Linked DNA regions of Homo sapiens: region 1 is linked to region 2. Evidence: promoter capture Hi-C in 16 types of primary human blood cells and fetal thymus (Javierre and others, 2016). All regions are on one chromosome and are shown on one strand. Each heading gives the region's core, a stretch centred on a gene start or on the middle of the fragment in contact. The rest is flanking DNA. Distances are from core to core; before and after follow the strand shown.

The links. The method cuts DNA at HindIII sites, captures the fragments that hold promoters and counts their contacts. A CHiCAGO score of 5 or more calls a contact.
Region 1: a fragment that was not itself captured here is called in contact with the fragment with the promoter of DCXR in region 2 in 7 of 17 cell types (total CD8 T cells, total CD4 T cells, naive CD4 T cells and 4 more); the score reaches 7.3 in total CD8 T cells.

The regions. Positions count from the first base shown.
Region 1 is chr17:82,179,689-82,186,157 of GRCh38, reverse strand. CCDC57 (coiled-coil domain containing 57) reads left to right here. Exons shown (of 19, transcript NM_001394669.1): 8 at 2,226-2,384. Among named protein-coding and RNA genes, the nearest start is that of CCDC57, 30 kb to the left of the region's middle. RefSeq lists enhancers at 4,543-5,509, 5,510-6,469. The HindIII fragment of the contact is 7,884 bases long and covers 1-6,469 here.
Region 2 is chr17:82,036,346-82,038,946 of GRCh38, reverse strand. DCXR (dicarbonyl and L-xylulose reductase) reads left to right here and starts at 1,250. Exons shown (of 8, transcript NM_016286.4): 1 at 1,250-1,316; 2 at 1,400-1,497; 3 at 1,934-2,088; 4 at 2,184-2,226; 5 at 2,304-2,403; 6 at 2,499-2,563. The coding sequence starts at 1,265. It overlaps DCXR-DT (DCXR divergent transcript), which reads right to left and starts at 1,029. Exons shown (of 2, transcript NR_159948.1): 1 at 679-1,029. RefSeq lists a silencer at 1,030-1,859. The HindIII fragment of the contact is 4,930 bases long and covers 1-2,601 here.

The DNA of each region.
Region 1 (6,469 bases), core at 2,647-5,146, 140 kb before region 2:
TCCCATGATCCCAAGTATGAGCTGGCATTAAATGATGACCTCGGCTAGGCACAGTGGCTCACACCTCTAATCCCAGCACTTTGGGAGGCTGAGGCAGGAGGATCACTTGAGCCTGGGCAACGAAACAAGACCCTATGTCTACCCAAAGAAAAGTTAGACAGGTACGGTGGTGCTCACCTATAGTCCTAGCTACTCAGGAGGCAGAGCAAGACTCTGTCTCTAAAAAAATAATTTTTTAACTAAAAAAATAGAAATAAGTGACAGCCATATTTATTTCAGTTCCTTTTTTTCTTTCTTAAAATGAAGTAGAGATGGGGTCTCCCCATGTTGCCCAGGATGGTCTCAAACTCCTGGACTTAAGTGATCCTCCCATCTCAGCCTCCCAAAGTGCTGGGATTATAGGCATGAGCCACCGTGCCTGGCCAGCTTTGTAGTTCTTAATAGGTTTTTCAGCAGTTTTGTGCTGGTTTGGAGTTTGGAACTACAGAGAAAACCTGTAGGATTAACAGGAAAGCATTTTTTTCTTCCTTTTTTTTTTTGTGACAAGGTCTCACTCTGTCACCCAGGCTGGAGTGCAGTGGCGTGATCTCGGTTCACTGCAGCCTACACCTCCTGGGCTCAGGTGATCCACCCCCCTCAGCCTCCCAGGTAGCTGGGACTACAGGTGCGTGCCACCACACCCGGCTAATTTTTGTATTTTGAGTAGAGACAGGGTTTAGTCATGTTGCCCAGGCTGGTTTCGAGCTCTGGGACCTCAAGCAGTCTGCCTGCCTCGGCCTCCCAAAGTGCTGGCATTACAGGCATGAGCCACCATGCCCAGCCTTCTTTTTTATTTTAACCATCCCATTACGCAGAAGAAAGAGAAGACTGGAAAGCAGCAGTGCGATCATGGCTCACTGGAGCCTCGACCTCCTGGGCTCAGGTGATCCTTCCACCTTGGCTTCTCACAAAAAGCATTTACGCTCTTGTGGTGAGCAGTGCACTCCCGCTCGTGGCCGTGGTGTCCTCTGTCCCTGCAGTGAGGGCTCAGCAGCCGTGCCCATTGATCTACACCTGAGACTGTGCATCAGGGGAGACTGTCCAGGAGGCCCCAGGCAGAGTCACATCACCATCCTGATGCTGGGAGTGGGGCTGGCCCTCATAATTAGGTGGCTCATGGTCCAGGGATAAAGCTGCTTCCCAGAGCACCAGAGGCCGTTGGTGAGTCTGTTTCTTCAGTACCCACGCAAAGCGTGGAAGGAGTCCAAACACACATTCTGTGTCAGCCCACATTGCCAGAGATGGCTGGAAACGTTGATGCCTTTGATGGTGTCTCTTTTCAGCTGTCCTAAAATATGTGTCCAAAACTGTTGGCAGGGTGGCTTTTTTTCCATTCTATATAATACCAGGCTTGAGTGCACCACTCATGCTAGGTTTAACCCCTCGTGACAAGGGGTGGCCTCTGTGGGGGCAGCCAGCTCACCCTCTGCTTCTCACTGTCAGTTGGAAGTTCATCAGCACAGGAGCATCTGAAGGTCTGTCGTGTGTGATGCTACAGTTGCTCTTGTGGGCCGTCTTCCCATCTCTTAGGGAAACAGGGCTACGCCCATGCAAGTGGGCAGGTATCATCTTGCCTAGGTTAGTACTGTGGCTACCTGAGTTAACAGCTCTAGATATTGTCCCGAACATTTTCTTGGGAAATTTATTCCATTTTGGGTAATTCTCCCAGAGGCATCCTGCTGTTAAGGTTATTTAGTGGGTTCTGTAGAACCTTATTTTACCATGCAACTTGAAAATGTGCTGAATGTCTCTGCACGTGGGGTGCTGTGCTAGGCATGGCGAGGACATGAGGGTGACTTGGTCAGAGGTGTTGCTACCTCATGACTGTGGGCTCTGTGGGCATGGGAGGCATGTCATGCCTCACCTTCCGCCCACCAAGAACCTGGCACATGGCCTGGTGTGCTGCAGGAGCTTAGCTGGAATCTGGGTTGGTGGGATGCATGCATGCATGGAGGTAGTTGGGTGGACGGATGCTTAATTCTTCCTGTGCGGAACCATCTTCATCATCTAGGCCAGGAAGTTTCAGCTCGAGAGCTGTGTGTGTGTGTGTGTGTGTGTGTGTGTGTGTGTGTGTGTGTGTGTGTGTGCGCGCGCGCGCGCGCATGTGTATTTGCTGGGGGGTGCTGTGTAAGAGACAACTTTAGTGAGTGAGAACCACATCTACATAGTTTCCCTTCTATGTTTAGACTTCGTGAAGATGCATCAACTGTAAAATCTGCCTGGGATGCTCAAATTGCTCAACTATCTAAGGAGATGGTCTCCAGAGACCTTCAGATTCAGACGCTGCAGGAAGAAGAGGTGAAGCTCAAGGCACAGGTGGCCCGATCCCAGCAGGACATTGAAAGGTAACTGTCCCCAGGCAGATGTTTCCATTGAGGGTCTCCTATGGGCAGGTGCTGTTGTAGGTACTAAGGATTCAAAACTGAACAGATTGAGTCCCTGGCCTCACATTTTCTTGGGGGAGAAAGACAGTGAACAAGACAGATAGAATGTCTGGTCACGCAGGGGTGGTGTGGGAAGACATGCAGAAGGGGCCGCCTGCTGGAGGGAGCATGGCCAGAGGATGGTGTTTCTCAGTCTGTAATAAGAGCCATAAAGGTGCTCCTGCTTGATTCTGCACTAAGAATCTCCTCTTGCCAAGCGTGGTGGCTCACACCTATAATCCCAGCACTTAGGGAGGCAGAAGCAGGAGGATTGCTGGAACCCAGGAGTTGGAGACCAGCCTGGTTAACATAGTGAGACCCCATCTCTGCAAAAAGGAAAACAAAAACAAAGAATCTCCTCGTCTGTCTTGTCTGATTGTTCATGTCCTCATGTGTTTCTTATCCGTTGGGGCGAACACTTCCTTGAACAAAGATAGCATTCTATTTCCCATACACATTCAAGTCAACTTTATTACAGAATACATATGCTAAACTCATCCATTTTAACTCTACACTTGATGAATTTTGATGAATGTGTATGCTGTATGATATCATTTGGCTCTATGTCCCCCCCCAAATCTAATCTCAAATTGTAATCCCCATGTGTCAAGGGAGGACCCTGATGGGAGGTGATTGGCTCATGGGGGCGGTTTCCCCGATGCTGTGCTTATGATAGTAAGTGAGTTCTGATGGTTTAAAAGTGTTTGGTGGGCCGGGTGTGATGGCTCACGCCTGTCATCCCAGCACTTTGGGAGGCCAAGGCTGTCAGATCACTTGAGGTCAGGAGTTCGAGACCAGCCTGGCCAACATGGTAAAACCCCGTCTCTACTAAAAATACAAAAATTAGCCAGGCATGGTGGCTCACGCCTGTAGTCCCAGATACTCCAGAGGCTGAGGTGGGAGAATCACTTGAACCCAGGAGGCGGAGGTTTTGGTGAGCCCAGATCGTGCCACTGCATTCCAGCCTGGGCAGCAGAGTGAGATTCTGTCTCAAAAAAATGAATAAACAAATAAAAAATAAAATATAAATAAATGTTTGGTGGGCCGGGCGCGGTGGCTCACATCTATAATCCCAGCACTTTGGGAGGCCAAGGCTGGCAGATCACCTGAGGTCAGGAGTTTGAGACCAGCCTGGACAACATGGTAAAACCCCATCTCTACTAAAAATACAAAAATTATCCCGGTGTGGTGTCACACGCCTGTAATCCCAGCTACTCGGGGGGCTGAGGCAGGAGAATCACTTGAACCCAGGAGGCGGAGGCTGCAGTGAGCCGAGATGGTGCTACTGCACTTCAGCCTGGGCAACAGAGCGAGACTGGGTCTCAAAAAAAAAAAAAGGAAAAGTACCAATGCTGAAAGAAACATGTTGTAATAACGTTCTTAGCTCTTCCTTCCAGCATTCTTTTTTTTTTTTGTTAAATACTTCCATTGACTGAAATAAAACATCATGTATCTTCAAGAAAGCACATTTAGATTTACCTATTACTTGTGTATGTAGAAAACCCTCATAATATGAACTAATGCAGAAGAAAAAAAACATGCTGTGATAATGTTCTCAACTTTTTTTCTTTTTTTTTTGAGATGGAGTCTCACTCTGTCACCCAGGCTGGAGTGCAGTGGCGCAATCTCAGCTCACTACAACCTCCACCTCCTGGGTACAAGCAGTTCTCCTGTGTCAGCCTCTAGAGTAGCTGGGATTACAGGCATGCGCCACCACGCCTGGCTAATTTTTGTATTTTTAGTAGAGACAGGGTTTCACCATGTTGGCCAGGCTGGTCTTGAACTCCTGACTTCAGGTGATCCACCTGCCTTGGCCTCCCAAAGTGCTGGGATGACAGGCGTGAGCCACCCCGCCTGGCTTATGTTCTCAACTCTTGATTCCAATGTTCCTTCTTCGTTAAACTCTTCCATTCACTGAAAGAAAACAGCACATATTACAATATTTAGACTTTTTTATACATTTAATTTCTCTCCTCATTATGTGCACGGTTGCCTTTAAATCTCTGAACTTATTTGTAATAGCTGCTTAAATGTATTTATCTGCTAATTCCATCATATCTTTATTTCTGAGTCTGTTTCTATGGGCTGATTTTTCTACTGGAGAGAGCTACATTTTTTTCTACTTCCTTGCCCATCTGGTAAGTTTTCACTGGATGTCAGACATGGTGAATATGATGTTGGCGAGCATCTGGTTTTGGCTGTGCTGTTTTTTGTTTGGCTGCAGTTAAGTATTTACATGGCAGCTTGACCCATTTGAGACTTGTTTAAAATCAGTGCGAGGGCAGGTGGGGCAGGTCTAGAGAAGCCTTTTCACCAGGGCTGACTCAGCACTATGACTCCCAGACCCCACTGCGTGCCCTGGAGCGAGAGCTCCAAGGATGCTCCGCCGGCCGCCCTGACGAGCTCTGGGAATCAGCGCACGTGGAGCCCCGTGCTGGCTGCTTCGTTCCCACGAGTTGCTCTTGGCCCAGCCGGTGTTGGCTTCTCCTGTGTATTTGCATGTGGCTGTCAGCCACAGCTTCTAGGGGATCCCTGCACAGATCCCAGGTTCCCCTCCTCTCTGCCCCTCTGCCTCATAAAGCCCATTTCAGCCACTTCAGCTTCTCCAAACTCCAACCTTCATCTCCTCGTCACAGCAAGACCACCGTGCTCTGCGTGGTTTGCCGTCCCTGCGGGGATCCGGAATGGCCTGTGGAGAGAAGCCGGGCGGCGAGTGGGCCCATCTCGCGAGGACCTTCTCTGAGGGGCCTCAGCCCCGCACCGCTCGTGTGTTCATCGTTCGCTCTGTGAAAGCCGTGCCCCATTTACTGCCCAGTGTCCCAGTTGTTTAAAGTGGGAAGATAGGCATGGTGACAGCTGCTGTGTTGTGTTAAAGATTTATTTATTTTTGCAGTTACAGGGATTTAAAAATGTATCTGTGGGGCTGGGCCCAGTGGCTCACGCCTGTAATCCCAGCACTTTGGGAGGCCGAGGCGGGCGGATCACGAGGTCAGGAGATCGAGACGATCCTGGCTAACACGGTGAAACCCCGTCTCTACTAAAAATACAAAAAATTAGCTAGGCGTGGTGGTATGCACCTGTAGTCCCAGCTACTCAAGAGGCTGAGGCAGGAGGACCACTTGAGCCCAGGAGGTGGAGGCTGTACTAAGCCAACATCACGCCACTGCACTCCAGCCTGGGTGACAGAGCAAGACTCTGTATCCAAAAAAAACCTAAAAATAATTAAACAAAACAAGAACACATTGTGTATAAATTACCACAAACTTAGCAGCTTAGCTGCTTTAAACACCCATTTATTATCTCAGGTTCTGGGGCCAGGGCCTGGGCAGGGCTCAGCCATTCCCGGCTCAGGGTCTCTCCAGGCTGGAATCAATGATGGCCAGGCCTGCCTCTCCTTGGAGGCCCAGGGTCCCTTCCAGACTCACCCAGCTGTTGGCAGAATTCAGTCCCTCCAGCTGTGGGGCCAAGGCCTCCATTCCCTCACTGTCTGACAGCCAGGGTCACTCTGCACCCTAGCGGCGTCCTCAGTCCTGGCCACGCAGCCCCTCCAGGGACCCTCTCACAACACGGTGGCTCAATTGCTATCATTCGAACTCCCTGAAGTTTACCGGTGCAATGAGGCCAGCAGGAGAGTCTCCCTCCAGTCTCACGCAGAGCCATGCCACCATCTCTGTGTCGCTGCCTGGGACAGGAGGGACCTCTCCCCCGTCACAGGATCACCCACAGCCTGGAATTCTGCCCCCAGTGTGTGGCCCCATGGCCTTCTGTCCCAGAGTTGCTGGTGTAAAGCCTAGTCCTAGTCCAATTCTTGTTCTTTTTTCCTTGTAGACTCTTCTTTCGTCCTTCATACTATAACGTTTCCCCTTACTGTGTGCGTGTGGGATCTCTAGAGCTCTCTGAAGGCTGGCGTTTGCTCTGTCCTGGTGGACCTGCCCCTTTACATCCTTGGTGGTTTCCTCCTTCCATTCTCATCTGTGCGCTGGTTTTCTGGAGGAAGCCCCCGGGTT
Region 2 (2,601 bases), core at 1-2,500:
CAGCCTCCCACAAGAAGCTGGTGGAGCAGAGTGTTCCCTGACGCCTCCAAGGAAAGGAGACTCCCCTTCGCAGTCTTCTAAGTAACGGGTGGCTTCCCAGACAACGGCATTACTGCTTGACCAAGGAGCCCTCAAGCAGCCCTTATGCGGGAGTGACAGAGGGCTCACCTCTTGCCTTCTAGGTCACTTCTCACAATGTCCCTAGGTTATATTAGTAATGCAACAAAGAGTAATATTAAAAGCTAATGATTAATAATGTTTATACTAATGATTGATAATTATCCATGATCATGATCATTTTTATATCTAATTTGTATTATGACTATTTTTATTTTAACTGTTTTTTTTTTAAAGATGGAGTCTTGCTCTGTCGCCCAGGCTGGAGTGCAGTGGCGCAATCTCGGCTCACTGCAAGCTCCGCCTCCTGGGTTCGCGCCATTCTCCTGCCTCAGCCTCCTGAGTAGCTGGGACTACAGGTGCCCGCCACCGCGCCCGGCTAATTTTTTGTATTTTTAGTAGAGATGGGGTTTCACCGTGTTAGCCAGGATGGTCTCGATCTCCTGACCTCGTGATCCACCCGCCTCGGCCTCCCAAAGTGCTGGGATTACAGGCGTGAGCCACCGCTCCCGGCCTATTTTCTTTGTTATACTGAAACAGTTTGTGTCTTCAGTCTCTTGCCTTGGCATCTAGGTAATCCTTCGCCCACAGATGAAAGCGGAGCTCTGCTGACATTGGTGTCTTCTCCAGACGTAGTTGGTTGTCCAAATTCTTTCCCTTGGCTTTAAAGTGAGCCGGCGGTGTCCTGCTCCCAAGCCTGAGAGATGATGGGCACAGGCGACACTTTTTAGGACATGCCGATGTTTTCAGAAACAAAACAAGAAATGTTAGCCCTGAAATTCTCCATTTCACGTGTTCTTCCTGATATTAACCACACATTCTTTCCGATATTAACCACCACATCGTCTTTTTGCAATAATCTTGGCAGGGAAAAATATGCTAGCCAGGGTCCACTACGTCGATTTCAAGCACGGAAGATGGGTCACACCAGGCACTTCAAAAGACCCGTCCCTGAGGCAGCGGAGACCCCGCCCCGCCCCGGCGCGCCCACTCCTTTCGGCCAATCACTGCAGCGGGGAGCAGCTATTTGAATGTCCCCACCGCCTATCTGAAGGCCGCCCTGCCATTGGCCCCGCCGCGCCCCGCCCATCGTGGCCAGAGCTTCAAGTTCCGCAGCCCCAGTGCGGAGGGCGGAGACTGCGCCGACATGGAGCTGTTCCTCGCGGGCCGCCGGGTGCTGGTCACCGGGGCAGGCAAAGGTGGGCGGCGGGGAAAGGTGGGCAAAGGCCGGCGGCGGGCAGAGGCGGGCAGGGGACGCCTTCACTGAGCCCGCTCCCGGCAGGTATAGGGCGCGGCACGGTCCAGGCGCTGCACGCGACGGGCGCGCGGGTGGTGGCTGTGAGCCGGACTCAGGCGGATCTTGACAGCCTTGTCCGCGAGGTAGGTCCCGCCGGGTCCCAGCGCTGCGAGGCGGCGAGCCAGGAGGGGGCGGCAGCGAGCGGGGGCGGTACCTCTGTGCGCGACTCCGCCTCCCCTCGCGGGCGCTGCGCTTCTCACCGCGGCCTGGGCGCCCGCGCACCCTCTCTCGGGGCTGGTGGCCTGCGTGGGCGGCCGGGTGGTCGGCAGAGCCGCCGGGGCCCCCGGGCTCAGAAAGAGGCCGAAATGGCTGCGAAGCAGGCCCCGGGCAGGAGTCGCTCGGGCGCAGGGAGGAAGTGAACCGGCCGGAGGTAGCGCCCGGCTGCTGGCCCCACAGTCCCGACACCTTCGGAACTCCTAACTCCTTTACTTGTCCGGCTGAAAGGTCACCAGCCCCAGTCCCCAGCTGTGCCGCTTGCTGGGCACAGAGCCTCTGGTAACTGCCCCCTGATACACACAGTGCCCGGGGATAGAACCCGTGTGCGTGGACCTGGGTGACTGGGAGGCCACCGAGCGGGCGCTGGGCAGCGTGGGCCCCGTGGACCTGCTGGTGAACAACGCCGCTGTCGCCCTGCTGCAGCCCTTCCTGGAGGTCACCAAGGAGGCCTTTGACAGGTGAGCCTGTGAGGGCGGAGGAACCTCAGGGAGGGGCTGTCCTGGAGGACGCAGCAGCCCTAATCTCTGACCAGGGTCTGTCCCTCGGCCTCTAGATCCTTTGAGGTGAACCTGCGTGCGGTCATCCAGGTGTCGCAGGTGAGCTGCCCTGTGGGCTGGACGGGAATTCTCGTGAGTGATGCCAGCTCTGCCTCACGGTCTCGCTGCGATTCCAGATTGTGGCCAGGGGCTTAATAGCCCGGGGAGTCCCAGGGGCCATCGTGAATGTCTCCAGCCAGTGCTCCCAGCGGGCAGTAACTAACCATAGCGTCTACTGTGAGTGCCCCAGCTGTGCCCTCAGCCCCACCCCAGCCCCAGCCTCGCCCTCATCACCGACCCCAGCCCCAGCCAGCTTGGGTTCCTCTTCGTAGGCTCCACCAAGGGTGCCCTGGACATGCTGACCAAGGTGATGGCCCTAGAGCTCGGGCCCCACAAGGTGAGCAGGGCTGGGGTACCTCCCCCAACCTAGGACAC